Regions from separate parts of the Homo sapiens genome. Here regions 1, 2, 3 and 4 are each linked to region 5. Evidence: promoter capture Hi-C in 16 types of primary human blood cells and fetal thymus (Javierre and others, 2016). All regions are on one chromosome and are shown on one strand. The core of a region is centred on a gene start or on the middle of the fragment in contact, and the rest is flanking DNA. Distances in the headings are between cores, read along the strand shown. Region 1 has its middle 62 kb from the start of VAPA. Region 2 has its middle 6.0 kb from the start of PPP4R1-AS1. Region 3 has its middle 99 kb from the start of VAPA. Region 4 has its middle 80 kb from the start of VAPA. Region 5 holds the start of NAPG (NSF attachment protein gamma).

The links. Contacts are between HindIII fragments. The CHiCAGO score rates a contact against its expected background, and 5 or more counts as called.
Region 1: a contact is called between a fragment that was not itself captured here and the fragment with the promoter of NAPG in region 5, in 16 of 17 cell types (fetal thymus, total B cells, naive B cells and 13 more). The highest score is 25.7, in fetal thymus.
Region 2: a fragment that was not itself captured here is called in contact with the fragment with the promoter of NAPG in region 5 in 4 of 17 cell types (monocytes, non-activated CD4 T cells, total CD8 T cells and 1 more); the score reaches 7.3 in monocytes.
Region 3: a contact is called between a fragment that was not itself captured here and the fragment with the promoter of NAPG in region 5, in 3 of 17 cell types (endothelial precursors, naive B cells and M0 macrophages). The highest score is 6.8, in endothelial precursors.
Region 4: a contact is called between a fragment that was not itself captured here and the fragment with the promoter of NAPG in region 5, in 6 of 17 cell types (fetal thymus, naive B cells, endothelial precursors and 3 more). The highest score is 10.5, in fetal thymus.

Annotation. Positions count from the first base shown.
Region 1 is chr18:9,974,246-9,976,945 of GRCh38, forward strand. No RefSeq gene overlaps it. Among named protein-coding and RNA genes, the nearest start is that of VAPA, 62 kb to the left of the region's middle. The HindIII fragment of the contact is 6,845 bases long and covers 1-2,700 here.
Region 2 is chr18:9,619,439-9,622,138 of GRCh38, forward strand. No RefSeq gene overlaps it. Among named protein-coding and RNA genes, the nearest start is that of PPP4R1-AS1, 6.0 kb to the left of the region's middle. The HindIII fragment of the contact is 2,301 bases long and covers 136-2,436 here.
Region 3 is chr18:10,011,940-10,014,639 of GRCh38, forward strand. No RefSeq gene overlaps it. Among named protein-coding and RNA genes, the nearest start is that of VAPA, 99 kb to the left of the region's middle. The HindIII fragment of the contact is 6,892 bases long and covers 1-2,700 here.
Region 4 is chr18:9,992,591-9,995,290 of GRCh38, forward strand. No RefSeq gene overlaps it. Among named protein-coding and RNA genes, the nearest start is that of VAPA, 80 kb to the left of the region's middle. The HindIII fragment of the contact is 1,372 bases long and covers 695-2,066 here.
Region 5 is chr18:10,524,749-10,527,448 of GRCh38, forward strand. It overlaps NAPG (NSF attachment protein gamma), which reads left to right and starts at 1,279. Exons shown (of 12, transcript NM_003826.3): 1 at 1,279-1,410. The coding sequence starts at 1,355. RefSeq lists a silencer at 1,422-1,671. The HindIII fragment of the contact is 5,497 bases long and covers 1-2,700 here.

The DNA of each region.
Region 1 (2,700 bases), core at 44-2,543, 550 kb before region 5:
GTTAAGTTTCCAGGTAAGGAAATCTGGTCCTAAGGCCAGCATCTGGGAGGAGAAGGACGGTGTCTCCCTTTGGCATGATCTACCAGGAAGATGGAAATTACTACCATTCTCCAAAAGCGGCTCATTCTGCCAGAAGCTGTCTACATTAGAAGGGAGAACAAACTTGGAGGTGGAGTTGGAGGGGTGCAGCATTGGGAATGTCTGCTTCTCATTAGGTTGTGTGTGTGGGAGAGAGGGGCTAGGTGGAGTTCATTAGCATCATTAGGTAGTTGTCCTGGACTTTCCCCAGTGGGAAGGAATGAGGCCTCAGGGCACTTTCAATTAAAAAATCTGATTTTATGTCTTTGGGAAATAGTTTTATGTTTATTTCTTAACATACCATTTTCTAATGAAGCTATTTGACTTCTAAGAGAACACTTTTTATTGACTATAAAGAATAAAACAATCTTGTGATGTTGAAACCATGTTCCACAAATTCAGTATGGAGTCATCTGTCAAGAATAAACAAACCAACCAAAACCACCATACAGCTTATTCCAGAGTAAAATGTGATTTTTAAGACTTTTACTGCTCAGCACAGAGGTATTCTGGAAGTCCAAGCAGACATTACAATGGATTTGTACATGCAAAGTTGGAATAGGGTATTTCATGTGTCATAGGCCTTCCTGGAGCGGTAGCACTACTGCTCTTGCCTTACCCAAGATCCATTCTTCTTTCCTTCTTCACGGATGGAACCCTGCTTTTGTTTGGGGTAGCACTGTGCCCTACTAAAAAATTACATTTCTTGGCATCCTTTGTAGTTGGGGGAAGGTCATGTGATACTCTTCTGAACAATCAGAAGTGAAAGACTGCTGGAAATTTCTGGGAAGTTGTACTTTCCTATTTTGGCATCTACTACTTTCTCCTTGTGTTACTTTCCTCTTCTCCAGATTGAAAGGTGAATTTGATTGGCTTTATGTCTTCAAGTTTATTCTTAAAACCGTGAACTAAAGACTGAGAAAATTACAGAATTCTCAGCCCTGACACTTTTGAGCTGCTGGACTAATACTAATTGTCTGGATTTCATGTGGCATGAGAGAAAAATAATAGCCCTAATTTATTCAAGTGACTCATGATCAAATTTTCAGTACTCCTAATTTATATTTGACATTTCACCAATATAAATATAATTACACTTCTTGTATTTTTCTTACTAAAATGCTTCAGCTGCCACATGCCCATGTTTGCAGGAAGCCCAGGCTCTCTGTCTCGAGGCCTCTTCTGTCACTCCTCCCACCCCTCACGATGACCAAAGGTTTTCATTCTACCTCGAACTCCAGGTGGATGGATAGTTGGAAACCCTGACTGCCCACTAGCAGAGCCTATTGCCCACCACAGGATGTTCTTGGAAAAACCTTGAGCAGTCTTGTGCTTCCTAAACTGTGGTTGGCACAGCCTTTTCTTTAAAAGAAATTTTATCTGGAAATGTTATTACTTCACCTTCATTCTTGAAGGATATTTTGTTGGGCACACAATTCTAGGTTTTCAGTTATTTTTTTTCAGCCCTTTAAAGATATCATTCCATTGTCTTTGGGCTCCACTGTTTCTATGAATAGTCAGCTGTCAGTTTATTTGTTGCTCCTTTAAGGAATTTGTCTATTATTCTCAGGCTTTTAAAAGATGGCCTCTTTGTCTTTGGTTTTCAGCAGTTTTAATACAAAGGAGGTGTGGGACTTTTTTGATTTGTTTTGTTTTTATGTTTATTTGGCTTGGGATTGGAAAGTCTTCTGGATTTTGAGGCTTGATATTTTTAATTAGTTTTGGAAAAATTTCCACCATTATTTCTTATAATACAGCTTTTACCTAAATAATTTTATCCCTTAATGGGTCTTCAATTTTTTACACATTAGACCTTCTCATTGTGTCTCCTATGTATCTTACCCTCTTTTTTGTATTATTCTTCATTTGTCTTTTTGACTTCACTCCTGGACATTTTCTTCTGGTCAGGCTTCTATTTTACCATTTTTCTCTTCAGCTATGTCTAATTTGTGGTTAAACCTATACAGTAAGATCTTAATTTTGATTGCTACATTTTCTTATTTCTAGACTTTTCTTTCAAAAATAGTTTCCAGTTCTTGACAAAACTTAAAACTTTATTTTTTATCTACTTGCACATGAGGACAGCTATTTTAAATTCTGTGCCTTATATCTCAATTATCTGGAATACATAGAGTCCATTTCCATTTTGTTGATTTTCTTGGTGTTTTCTTATTTTCTAGTATGCATCACTATTTTAATTTTAATGCCAGACATTGTTTATGAAAAATGGTGAAGTAATTTGAGGCCTATAATGATTTTATATTCTTTTGTTTTATTATACTTTAAGTTCTAGGGTACAGGTGCACAACATGCAGGTTTGATACATAGGTATATGTAGGCCATGTTGGTTTGCTGCACCCATCAACTCGTCATTTACATTAGCTTTTTCTCCTAATGCTATTCCTCCCCCACCCCTCCAACCCTAACAGGCCCCGGTGTGTGATGTTCCCCGCCCTGTGTCCAAGTGATCTCATTGTTCAATTCCCACCTATGAGTGAGAACATGCAGTGTTTGGTTTTCTGTCCTTGTGATAGTTTGCTGAGAATGATGGTTTCCAGTTTCATCCATGTCCGTGCAAAGGACATTAACTCATCCTTTTTTTATGGCTGCATAGTATTCCAT
Region 2 (2,700 bases), core at 36-2,535, 910 kb before region 5:
TACTACATCCTACACAATTTGTTCCACACATTTTAATTTCATTAAGAGAAAACAAAGATGTTTAAACAGTGAGCACTAAATGGATTAGAGTGGCAGTAGTAAATTTCCTTTGTGCCTTTCTCTTAGAATTTAGAAAGCTTTAGTTGCAATCCCATTCAAAGCAATATGGGAGAGGCTTCCACAATGCCTGGCACAGAGTACGTGTGGAGGAAATGCTTATCATTTTAGATGCTTATTATTTTAAATGTTTAAATGTTTATTATTCTGAATCTGAATGGATGAGTCAAGTTGAACCAGGAAATAAACCATAGCAAACCACATATTCAAACCCAGATAAGTTCAGTGGTTAACTGCCCTGACTCTAAGCTCCCTTCACACTAAGGCTGCTCTATGGTAATATGATTCAGAAGAAATTACTTCCATTCTCATTTCACTTCTCTGTAACTGTTTGTAACAAATTGCTTGTGTCTCTGGTCCTTGGTTCCTTCCTTTGGTGGGAAAAATATTAGCACAATGACACAATATAATTCCCAGACTAGATAGCTAATACATTTTCTAACTTTTTATTTAGAAACAATTACAGATTTACATGAAGTTTCAAATGATGTGCCAGGATGTCCTATGTCACTTTCACATCAGTTCCCCCAATGGTAATATTACCGTATATATGAAACATTTTTCAGAGCGTGTGCCAGGCATCATGTTAAGCGCTTTTTCTTTTTTTTTCTTTTTTTCTTTTTTTTTTTTTTTTCTGAGATGGAATCTCGCTCCATCACCCAGGCTGGAGTGCAGTTGCACAATCTCAGCTTGCTGCAATCTCAGCTTGCTGCAACCTCCGCCTCCCGGGTACAAGCGATTCTCCTGTCTCAGCCTCCTGAGTAGCTGGGACTACAGGCGCCCACCACCATACTCAGCTAATTTTTGTATATATATATATATATTTTTTTTTTTTTTTTGTACAGACGGGGTTTCACCATGTTGGCCAGGCTGGTCTCAAACTCCTGACCTCAAGTGATCCACCTGCCTCGGCCCCCCAAAGTGGTGGGATTACAGGTGTGAGCCACCGCGTCCAGCCTGTTAAGCACTTTTATGTGCTTTCTGATTATTTAAAACAGCCCTGTGAAGTAGAAATTGATATTACCATTTTAAAAATAAAGGAAATCGAAGCTCAGAAAGGTTGGGTATTTTGACAAAGATCAAAAAGCAAATGACCTGGCACAGTGGCTCACACCTGTAATCCCAGCACTTTGGGAGGCCGAGGTGGGTGGATCATTTGAGGCCAGGGGTTCGAGACCAGCCTGGCCAACATGGTGAAACCCTGTCTCTACTAAAAATACAAAAGTTAGCTGGGTGTGGTGGCACATGCCTGTAATCCCAGCTACTCGGGAGGCTGAGGCATTAGAATCTCTTGAACCCAGGAGGTGGAGTTTGCAGTGAGCCGAGATCACACCACTGCACTCTGGCCTGGGTGACAGAGTGAGACTGTCTCAAAAAAAAAAAAAAAAAAGAAAAGAAAGAAAGCAAGCAAGCAAGCAAATAGGGGAATTAGTATTCAAACACTGGAATCCTGATTCTAAATAATGGCAATAGCGTTTGCGTATCCTCACATTCATAGCTTTTCTGTCAAAATGGTCCTTCGTCAACTTCTTTCGCATTAAGAGAACTTCTAGTCTTTCAACATGTATGGTCTTGGTATAATCTCTAATTCCATCTAAGTTATCACTGTTCCCTGAGGATTTTGTCATTGAAACATTTTAGGAGTCACCTCTTCACTCCGTTTCTCACTCAATATCCTGACCAAGATATTAACCACTTCAAAACCATACTAATAACTTTTTAACTAGCCTGTTTCAATTATTCTGGCCAAGTATACAAAAATTATCTTTCTCATATAATATTTTGTTCATCACAATTCTGTGAAATTCCCAAGCAAGTGCCTTAACAGTGTCCTCTCACCAGCTGCCCTTGGCTTGAATGGCTGCAGTTTGCCACCATTTCATTATTCGGACAAATCATCCAGGTAGACAATCTTGAACTCAGGTGCCAACTCACTTCTCCCTCAAACGATGTTCTTGGTTTTTTAGGAGGTTTTGTTGTTGCTGCTGCTTGTAGGTATGTGGCAGGTGTTGGGAGGGGTGGAATTCTACATATTTTTTTTTTTTTGAGATGCGGTCTCACTTTGTTGCCCAGGCTAGTCTTGAACTGCTGGGTTCAAGCAATCCTCCCACTTTGGCCTCCCAAAGAGCTGGGATTACAGGTGTGAACCACCATGGCCGGCCGGAATTCTACATCTTTGTAACATTTATTCTTTTCTGAATTTTCCAATTACAAAAATACATGTTTTTGGAGTGCCCAGAAAAGTATAAAGAAAAAACTAAAATCTCCAAAAATTTAGAGATAATACCCCCAAACAGTTTATGTTTACCTATTTTTTAAAGCTTTCAAAGTCCTATATTTAAAAAAGTTTAGCCTAGGCCGGGCGCGGTGGCTCACGCCTGTAATCCCAGCACTTTGGGAGGCTGAGGTGGGCGGATCACGAGGTCAGGAGATTGAAACCACCCTGGCTAACATGGTGAAACCCCGTCTCTACTAAAAATGCAAAAAATTAGCCGGGCGTGATGGCGGGCGCCTGTAGTCCCAGCTACTCGGGAGGCTGAGGCAGGAGAATGGCATTAATCTGGGAGGCGAAGCTTGCAGTGA
Region 3 (2,700 bases), core at 34-2,533, 510 kb before region 5:
TCTTCAACTTCTGAAATTATATTTTGAAGGCAGTGCCACACTTTTGCTGAGGGTGAGTGGGTGGATTACTACATGAAGGGACAGTAGGAGATGCCTCTGTTAATGGATTATTCTTTCATGGGGTTATCCACACAAAAACAACACAACTCAATGTCAAGTGCCTTTTAGGCCTCCCTTTAATTTTAAGGATCTGAAGAAGGAGGTAGCAGATGGAGACACTGAGCCACAGAGCCACACACCTACAGCCATATGATAAATCAGCCATGAGTCCAGAGAACCAAGTCTACTTTTCCTGATTCCAGAGGCTCTGGATGAAGTCAAAGCAATTGTGTTCCAGGTGCTTGTTGCTGTTTTCAAGATGAGTGCACAGCCAACATTGGTGCCTCGATGGGCCTATCTCCTTCCTGGAATGGTAAGCCACAGTACCCGTCCCAAAAGGATGAGCTCTGAGAGGAGCTGAGCGTACAGGGACTCTGAGACAGAGCCCCAGCATTGTGGAAAATGTGATGGCTAGAATCTGAGGACACCTGGGACTGTTATGTTTAAACTGCCAACAGCTCTTCTGTTTTTCTAGGTGGAAGTTTGGGTTATTCTTTCCAATTACTTCTTTGGGGGAAAAGACTTCAAAGGGCCTTTGGTTGCATCCTACAGTACATCGGGGAGCAGCCACAGTCACATGGAGGTGAAGAACCCTTTCCTTATGTTCTGTTCAGTTCTTGCCTATGGCCAAGCTAAGCCCTGTTGGATCTGGGCCAGAGCCAGGTGATATTTACTGCCCTACACACACTTTTGGCTCCCATGCACCTCGGTCAAGGGTCCCTGCCCTCTTGACCAGGGCGGTGATGGGGCTCATGGAGTGGTGCAGTGCCCTGGTCAGCTGGTATCTCAATGGCCTGGACTCTGGAGGGAAGGTCCTGGGTGCCTCCTTTCTTTCTTGCCCATTGTTGGGGAACAGACCTTGCGGGATGGGCTCTCTTGGCTCCTAGCTTGGGATTTTGGATGAAAGGCTTGGACCTCTGCTCCACGAGTGGTGAATTGTAATTCTGATTTAAATATGATCAGATATTTTAGAGCCGTATGAAGGGAAGAAAGAAGTGCATTTATGATCCAGTTCTTAAAATAAGAAACTTGAACTTACTAGTCTGATAGCATGGACTGACATAATTGCATTCTGCAGATCATCATGCAGAGCTGGTTTAGATAAGGTATCTTTTCTCCCCCTTGCTGATTTTTGGAGAGGGAGAGGCCCTGGACACTGGTAGAGGCACCATTATAAAAGCACTCAGAGGCGGGTCGCAGTGTCACATGCCTGTAATCCGAGCATTTTGGGAGGCTGAGGTGAGAGGATTGCTTGAGCCCAGGAGTTCGAAGCTACAGTGAGCTATGATTGTGCCACTTCACTCCAGCCTGGGAGACAGAGCAAATGAGACCCTGTCTCAAAAAATTTTTTTTTAAATAATAAAAGCATTCTGAAAGAGTGGTGGTGGGTAAATCACACAATTCGTCTTTCTAATTGGGAAACTCATTGGGTGAAAGGGGCAGCTGGAAACAACCAGTCCAGGATATATCGGATGATAGCTGGACTGTAACTGCCATGCAAGCTGAGATACTGGAGGGCTGGGGACCCTATGGACACTGTTTGCAGCTGTATCTGGCATTCATTTTTAATATATTTCTTTTCTCCTCTTTTTTGTCATTCCCCCTGTTATCCACAAGTCCTCAATATATTTTTGTAGAAGTTACAGCCCGATCTTAGTGCTGGGAAAATCGAGGGAGGGGCTTGTGTCCATGGTAGCAGGAAAGGATACAGGAACAGGGACAGAGCCTGGGGAAACCGCTGTGATAGCAGGCAGTGGGGTGCACGTCCTCCTTGTGATGAGGCAGCCAGCCGAGGAGACCAATGACAGCAGCCTGGACCCACGGGCTCTGCAGATCTTCTATGGGCGTCCCAGAGCCCTTTTGGAGGGAACTTGGTGAAGGATGGGGTTCCCTGCATGTAAGTGTGGAGTGGGGGCTGGACTGTCGTTATCTGGGCATTGAGGGCCATATGGATAGCACAGAACCAAAGGGACAAATGGCCACTAGACTACCCTATGACTTGGCTCTGATGACTCCCAGACACCGTGCCATTCTCCTTGCTCCGCCTTATCTTCTGAGAGTCCTGGCATGGCTCCCTGACCCTCCACCTCGTCCGTGTTACTCTACAATGACAGGCCACAATGAGGACACAGAGTCAGCAGAGGGCCAGGCAGCTGTTCACCTCTCCCATCACACCCAGGTAAAACTCCAGCTCATGTTGGCCCACCTCCTGGAAAAGTCTCTCTGTCAACAGCATTTCAGGATCTCGTATTCAGAAGACAACAGCTTTAGCGAGGAGGGCACTGTGACTGCAGGTGGGCATCTGTGCTTCCGCCCGTGTGGGACCCCTGGGACACTTACGCTGGGGGAGGATGTGGTTAGTGGCCACACAAATGCCTAAATCCAAAGACATTGGAAAGTGAATTAATTCACTAAAAAATAGGTTGTTTCTTTAGTGAATAAAATAACTTAGATACTCCTGGATACTTCATTGAGTCATATTTTGGATGTTTATTTTTATTTATTGATGTTCCTATACCACAGGGATGGACACGGTGGCTCACACCTGTAATTCCAGCACTTTGGGAGGCCAAGGCAGGTAGATTGCTTAAGTCCAGGAGT
Region 4 (2,700 bases), core at 131-2,630, 530 kb before region 5:
GCTTAGCAGTCTTCTCATCATCTTCACTCCCTAACTAAGAAAGAGGGAGTGGAAGAGGGTGGTGAATCCTTCAATATTTAAAAGCACCAAACACAACAAAATTTATGTGGACCTCGTCATTATTACTATTCTGACTTAATGAACTTTATCCTCTCCTTTTTTGGCTGGAAAAACATAAAAGTCCCAATGAAAGGAAACGGATGTAGTTGCTTTGAGCATTTCCAAAGGAAACTGCAGTAAAATGTGAACCATCGCCCTGTGAAAGCCTGTTGTGTAATGGAGATGTCCTGATACTGTTTCCATCTGCCAGCTCTGTGTAAGCGGAGGGGGTGTCTCTGGCCAGCAGAGCCCCCACATCAGAGTCACAACAACAGCAAAGTCGTGGAAATGTTTGGGAAAAAAGCTCAAACCACACTTCTAACCATGCTCGGTTTTTCTTGTAACCGAAAGCCATGCAAAAGAAGGGAGGCCAAAGGAGGACCTGTGGGCTGGCAATTTAGAATGATGTTTGAACAGAGGAAGAGAAGTGAGGATGACTGGGAAGAACAGTCTTTGATGATCAATTCGTAAGCCCCAGTGAGCAGGCACAAACTCAGGTTCACCCAATGGGGAATGGAAACCAGTGTTGCCAGCGCTCGGGGAAGGCTGCAGCTTGGTTCGCCTTAGTGAAAGCTGTGGATGGCTCATGGTCCCAAGCTTCCTATTTTTCTTACTGTGCTCAGGGTGTCTGATTCCTGGCCAGTGTCTTGGATGTCCTGGGTCAGCCCACGTACGCCAGTGCATGTTGGAAGGGGAGAGTTGATTCCCTCTCCCAAGCCAGGAGGTCCGTCGGCATGGGCTCTTTCATAAGCATGCTTTCCTACAGAAGGTCTGAATGGTCACAGTCCAGTCTATAGTTTAAAAGAAGTGCAGGCCTTCTATTTGCGCCTGTCTTCCTCACGTGCCTTCCCCCGTTTCCTTCTCACTTCCTACCATGGCGGTGTAGAGACTCTCAAAATCAAGAGGGAAAAGAAGGAAGCTCAGTACTTCTTGCGGCGAGAGAAGCCAGTGCCGGTGCGGACACTCTTGGCTGGTGGAATCTGTGGTGGGGGTGGGGGGTGCCCTCACTGGCAGGGAGCTTACAGATGCATTGGGTGGTGTGAGGAGATCACAGATGTACTTGGCCTCTGTCTGTGAGCCCCCACCGTGTGTGCCGTGGCCCCTACACTTATCCCGCCCCCCCGTTGTGCTCCACAGAGCTGGAAAAAAGAATGGTCCCGTTATCATTGTCACCCAAGCAGTCGCTTCAACAGATGCCTTTGTTCTTCCAGGCTGCCCAGATACCAAAAGGCTGGAATTAATAATTGACTAAAATTAATAGGGCAGTGCTTGTCTAAATGAAATGTGGTCTGGGCTGCATTTCAACTTGACAGTTCTCGTTCTCCTGTTGGATTTTGTTGTTGTTGTTGGTTCTGGGGCAACTTTACAAGGATGTGGGTGAGTGTGCCTCAGTTTGATTTGTGGCTCAGCTGTCTACTTTTAAATTAAAATACCTGGCAAACAAAAGGCCCAGCTCTTGGGTTCAGAAAACGAACTGCAGACGTCTGAGGTGTGGCCCTGAGATTTAGCGGGAGCAGGAGTAAAACGGGTTAAAGTTTGGTTGAGAATAAAGTTAATATTCAGCACTGGTGTATTGTGGCTGCCAAGAATACGAGCTGTGGCCGTGTTAATAAAAGTGCAGTGTTTAGAGGGAGTGAGTGATCGTCTTGCTCTGGCTCTGTGGGACCACCCGTGGAGCTTGGCTGGGCTCTGTGAGGGGCACCTCTATTTAAAGGGAGCATGAGCAGATGGGGGGCTCTGACAGGAGAGCAGTGGGACCTTGTGGGCACCCGGGACCATGCTCGAGACACAGGGGAAGCAGGGGAGGGCATGGATGTCTTGGTTAAGAGAGTTGAAAGGCTACAGATACGAGAAAGGGGCACTGGACTGCTGTGCACATGAACGGTCCCAGCTCTGCAAGGGGGAAGCAGTGAGCGCCCCGGGAAGGGGATGCTGCATAACCACCCTGTGTGTACACGTCAGAAAGAAGCTTGAAACACGTGACCGTAGTCTTGTCCAGCCATGAGATTTTATCATTTTCAGATGGATGCATTTTCCTTCTTTTCAACAGGTTTAAGTAAAATTTATTAAGGTCAGTCTCCCGGGTGAATACTGAGGGCCCCTTGAATCAGCTCAGTGGGATTTCAACTCTGTCTGCACCTCAGATACTCCCCGGTTTGACTCTCAACACACCCTTGATATCTCTCAGTGAGCCTGACTGCATGGCACGAGGCCTGACTGCCAAGGTATCTCGTTCACTAGGAGTCTGAAAGAGTCAGTGCCTCTTCAACATGGCCAATTCATTCCTGAGGAGGACTTTACTTGCTAGGAGCAAATGATTAACTATTCATAACATTTGTTGAGCATCAAAAAATTGGGAATGAGCAAGTAGCCCGGAATTTGATACATTTCACTTCTTTGACTTTGCCATCTGAAGCCAGAGACAGGAAGTCATCTGAGCTGACGGGCATTTTGGGTGAGTGGTGTGCCAGTACCTCCTTCCAGGCCAGCACTGTGCAGAGAATCCCAGCAGCCTCCAAGACATCTAACAAACAGATAGAACTGAAAACCCAGTCATTGCAAGCTTCTGGTTTGGGTCCAGAACGTAGGCCATCTCAACCC
Region 5 (2,700 bases), core at 29-2,528:
AACTCTTCGAATAGTTATTTCATATTCAACAATAAGTGAGAGTTGGCAGGCAAGCAGAGATTGTGTAGGAGTTTTGAGAAGGAAGGTGTGAACAGCCCTCCAAGTGAGTGGGTGAGTGATTTGACCATGGAAACATAGGAGAGTTGCTCAGCAGCACCAAAGGTCGGCTTAATGTTTATGATCATTAAAATGAGTAATGTTAGCATCCTCGTTTGTTTTTTTCCAGTCAAATTCACTTGCTCAAGAGCAGTTCCAGAGTAGGTGGAGAGCTGGGGTTTTTCCTGGCTTGGAGAAAGGAGGGAGAGGGAGCCAAGGCCGTTGAGAGTATACGCACTAAAATGATGGGACATGAATTTATGCTGGGAAAAGAAGGACGTGTAAGAGCAGAGGGATAGGGAAAGGTGAGGAATCTGGTGAAGGTTAAGTAATTACTAGCACTAGGAGGTATGAGCTGGAATGGAAAGGGGAAGTAAAGTGAGCTGTTTGAAACTGACACTACGGAGGGTACACAGTTATGAGTAAGGTCAAGGGTGTGATCCCAGGAATGTGTGGCTGCGCTAGTGTGGGAAAGATCACAGGAGGTTGGAAGCTGAGAGGCTGTATAGTCATTGCAGGAATCATCCATGTGGATATTGAAATCACCATGAATTATGAATGAAGCCAACTGTATTACTGGTTACTATTTTTACCAGACCACTGTACGCGACTTTAGATCCCTCAACTTCCCATTTAGAGCACTTATCACGGCTTGAAATATTAGAGCGATTATTTGGGTTGGGCGCGGATTATTTGACAGTAATCAGGGTTTACAAGTCTGTTTCGTTTCTTGACTGACATACAATTAATACCCAAAAGGCAGAATGGATAGAAGAATACTATTCTATCTGTCATACAGAGAAACTTCAGATGTAATAAATTATAAAGCCAATTAACCCTACAAACAGGATCCACAGCAGTTTCACATTAATGAAAAAGCAAGACTTCAAGAGGGCGGGAGTTTTTGTCTGCTGATCTTCCCGCATCTAAAATAGTGCCTGACACATATTAGGTGCTTTGCAAATATTGAATGAAAGAATACGCCCCATCAGTATCTCACCGCGCCTGCGCTAGATGCCCTAGGTGGGGCCAGCCTTGACGCGCTGCGCCTGCGCAATGTCTCTTTGCGGGGCGCACCGGCAGGCTCCCAGCCCCGCTTCGTCGCAGCGGCTTGGGCCCTCCGGCCCTCCGTAGCCGCTCGACTGTCGCGCTGCACCAGCTTCCTCCTCGGCGTTCCCACGCCTATTTGGGCGGATTCTTGGCGCCGGAGGAAGAGGCAGGGTCACCCTCTCTCCACGTCAGAGACCTGACTGTGGAGATGGCGGCTCAGAAGATAAACGAGGGGCTGGAACACCTCGCCAAAGCAGAGAAATAGTGAGTGAGAACCTTCCGGGGGCCTGTGTGTAGACGCCGGGTCCGTCTCTCACTGGCGCGGCCTTAGCACCCGGGGGGGGCGGGAGGGAGGGCTCAGGGCTGAGGGGCCTCGGCGCGCTGGTGCCCGCAGGGCTGCCGGGGCTCGGTGTCCTCTGGGTCACACTCCCGGGGTCGGGGTCAGCTCTGCGGCGCCTCGGGAAGCGCCGTGGGTCCACCCCGCCGGAAGTCCGCTCCCCAGAGCCGGTGTGGGCGGGGACTCGGCGCAGTGCTGCGGGGCGAGGGCTTCTCTACTTGGGCGCTCTGCTCCTGAAGATTGTGGTGGGGGCTGTCTGTGCATCGGAGGCTCGTTAGCAGCATCCTTGGCCTCTACCTGCTGGGTGCCGGTCGCATCTCTTCCCCATTTGTGGCAACCCAAAATGTCATCTGGGGAACAACATCGCTCTGTTGAGAACCACCGCCCTAGAAGAGCCCCCTGTGTGGAGGGGACCATAGGTTTACCCCAAAAACTCCTCGGTGAACCTTTGTCATCTGGCATTTTACTGTCCCTGTGGGCAGGGACTGTGCTTCGTTCGTCCTTTGATGTGTATGTCCTGCCACCTCTGGTACAGTACGTAGTAGGCACCCTGCAAATGTTTGTGGGACTGAACTGATAATCCTTAATTCATCCTTTTGGCAGCCTCTTCCCCCCGTTTCATTACTCCAGTGCATTTTTATCTGGCAGTTACAGTTAATAGAAAGTCAGCATTGTGGGCCGGGCGCGGTGGCTCACGTCTGCAATCCCAGCACTTTGGGAGGCCGAGGCGGGCGGATCACAAGGTCAGAAGATCCAGACCATCCTGGCTAACACGGTGAAAACCGTCTCTACTAAAAATACAAAAAATTAGCCGGGCGTGGTGGCGGGCGCCTGTAGTCCCAGCTACTCGGGAGCCTGAGGCAGGAGAATGGCCTGAACCCGGAAGGCAGAGCTTGCAGTGAGCCGAGATCGCGCCACTGCACTCCAGCCTGGGCCACAGAGCGAGACTCCGTCTCAAAAAAAAAAAAAAAAAAGAAAAGAAAAAGTCAGCATTGTGCTCTGTGGTGGGTGCTTCACATACATAATTTCATAAGCTGAGATCTTCACAATAACTTTCCAAATAGAGATTCTAATTTTTCGTAAGAGGAAATGAGACTCAGGGAAGCCTCATAACGACTTGCCCCCAACTGCACAGGTGAAAGATCGCAGAGCCAGTTTTCAAACAGTGGAAAAACTCAAGCTCTATCACATGACTCGAGGCAGTCAGCGTGTAAGGT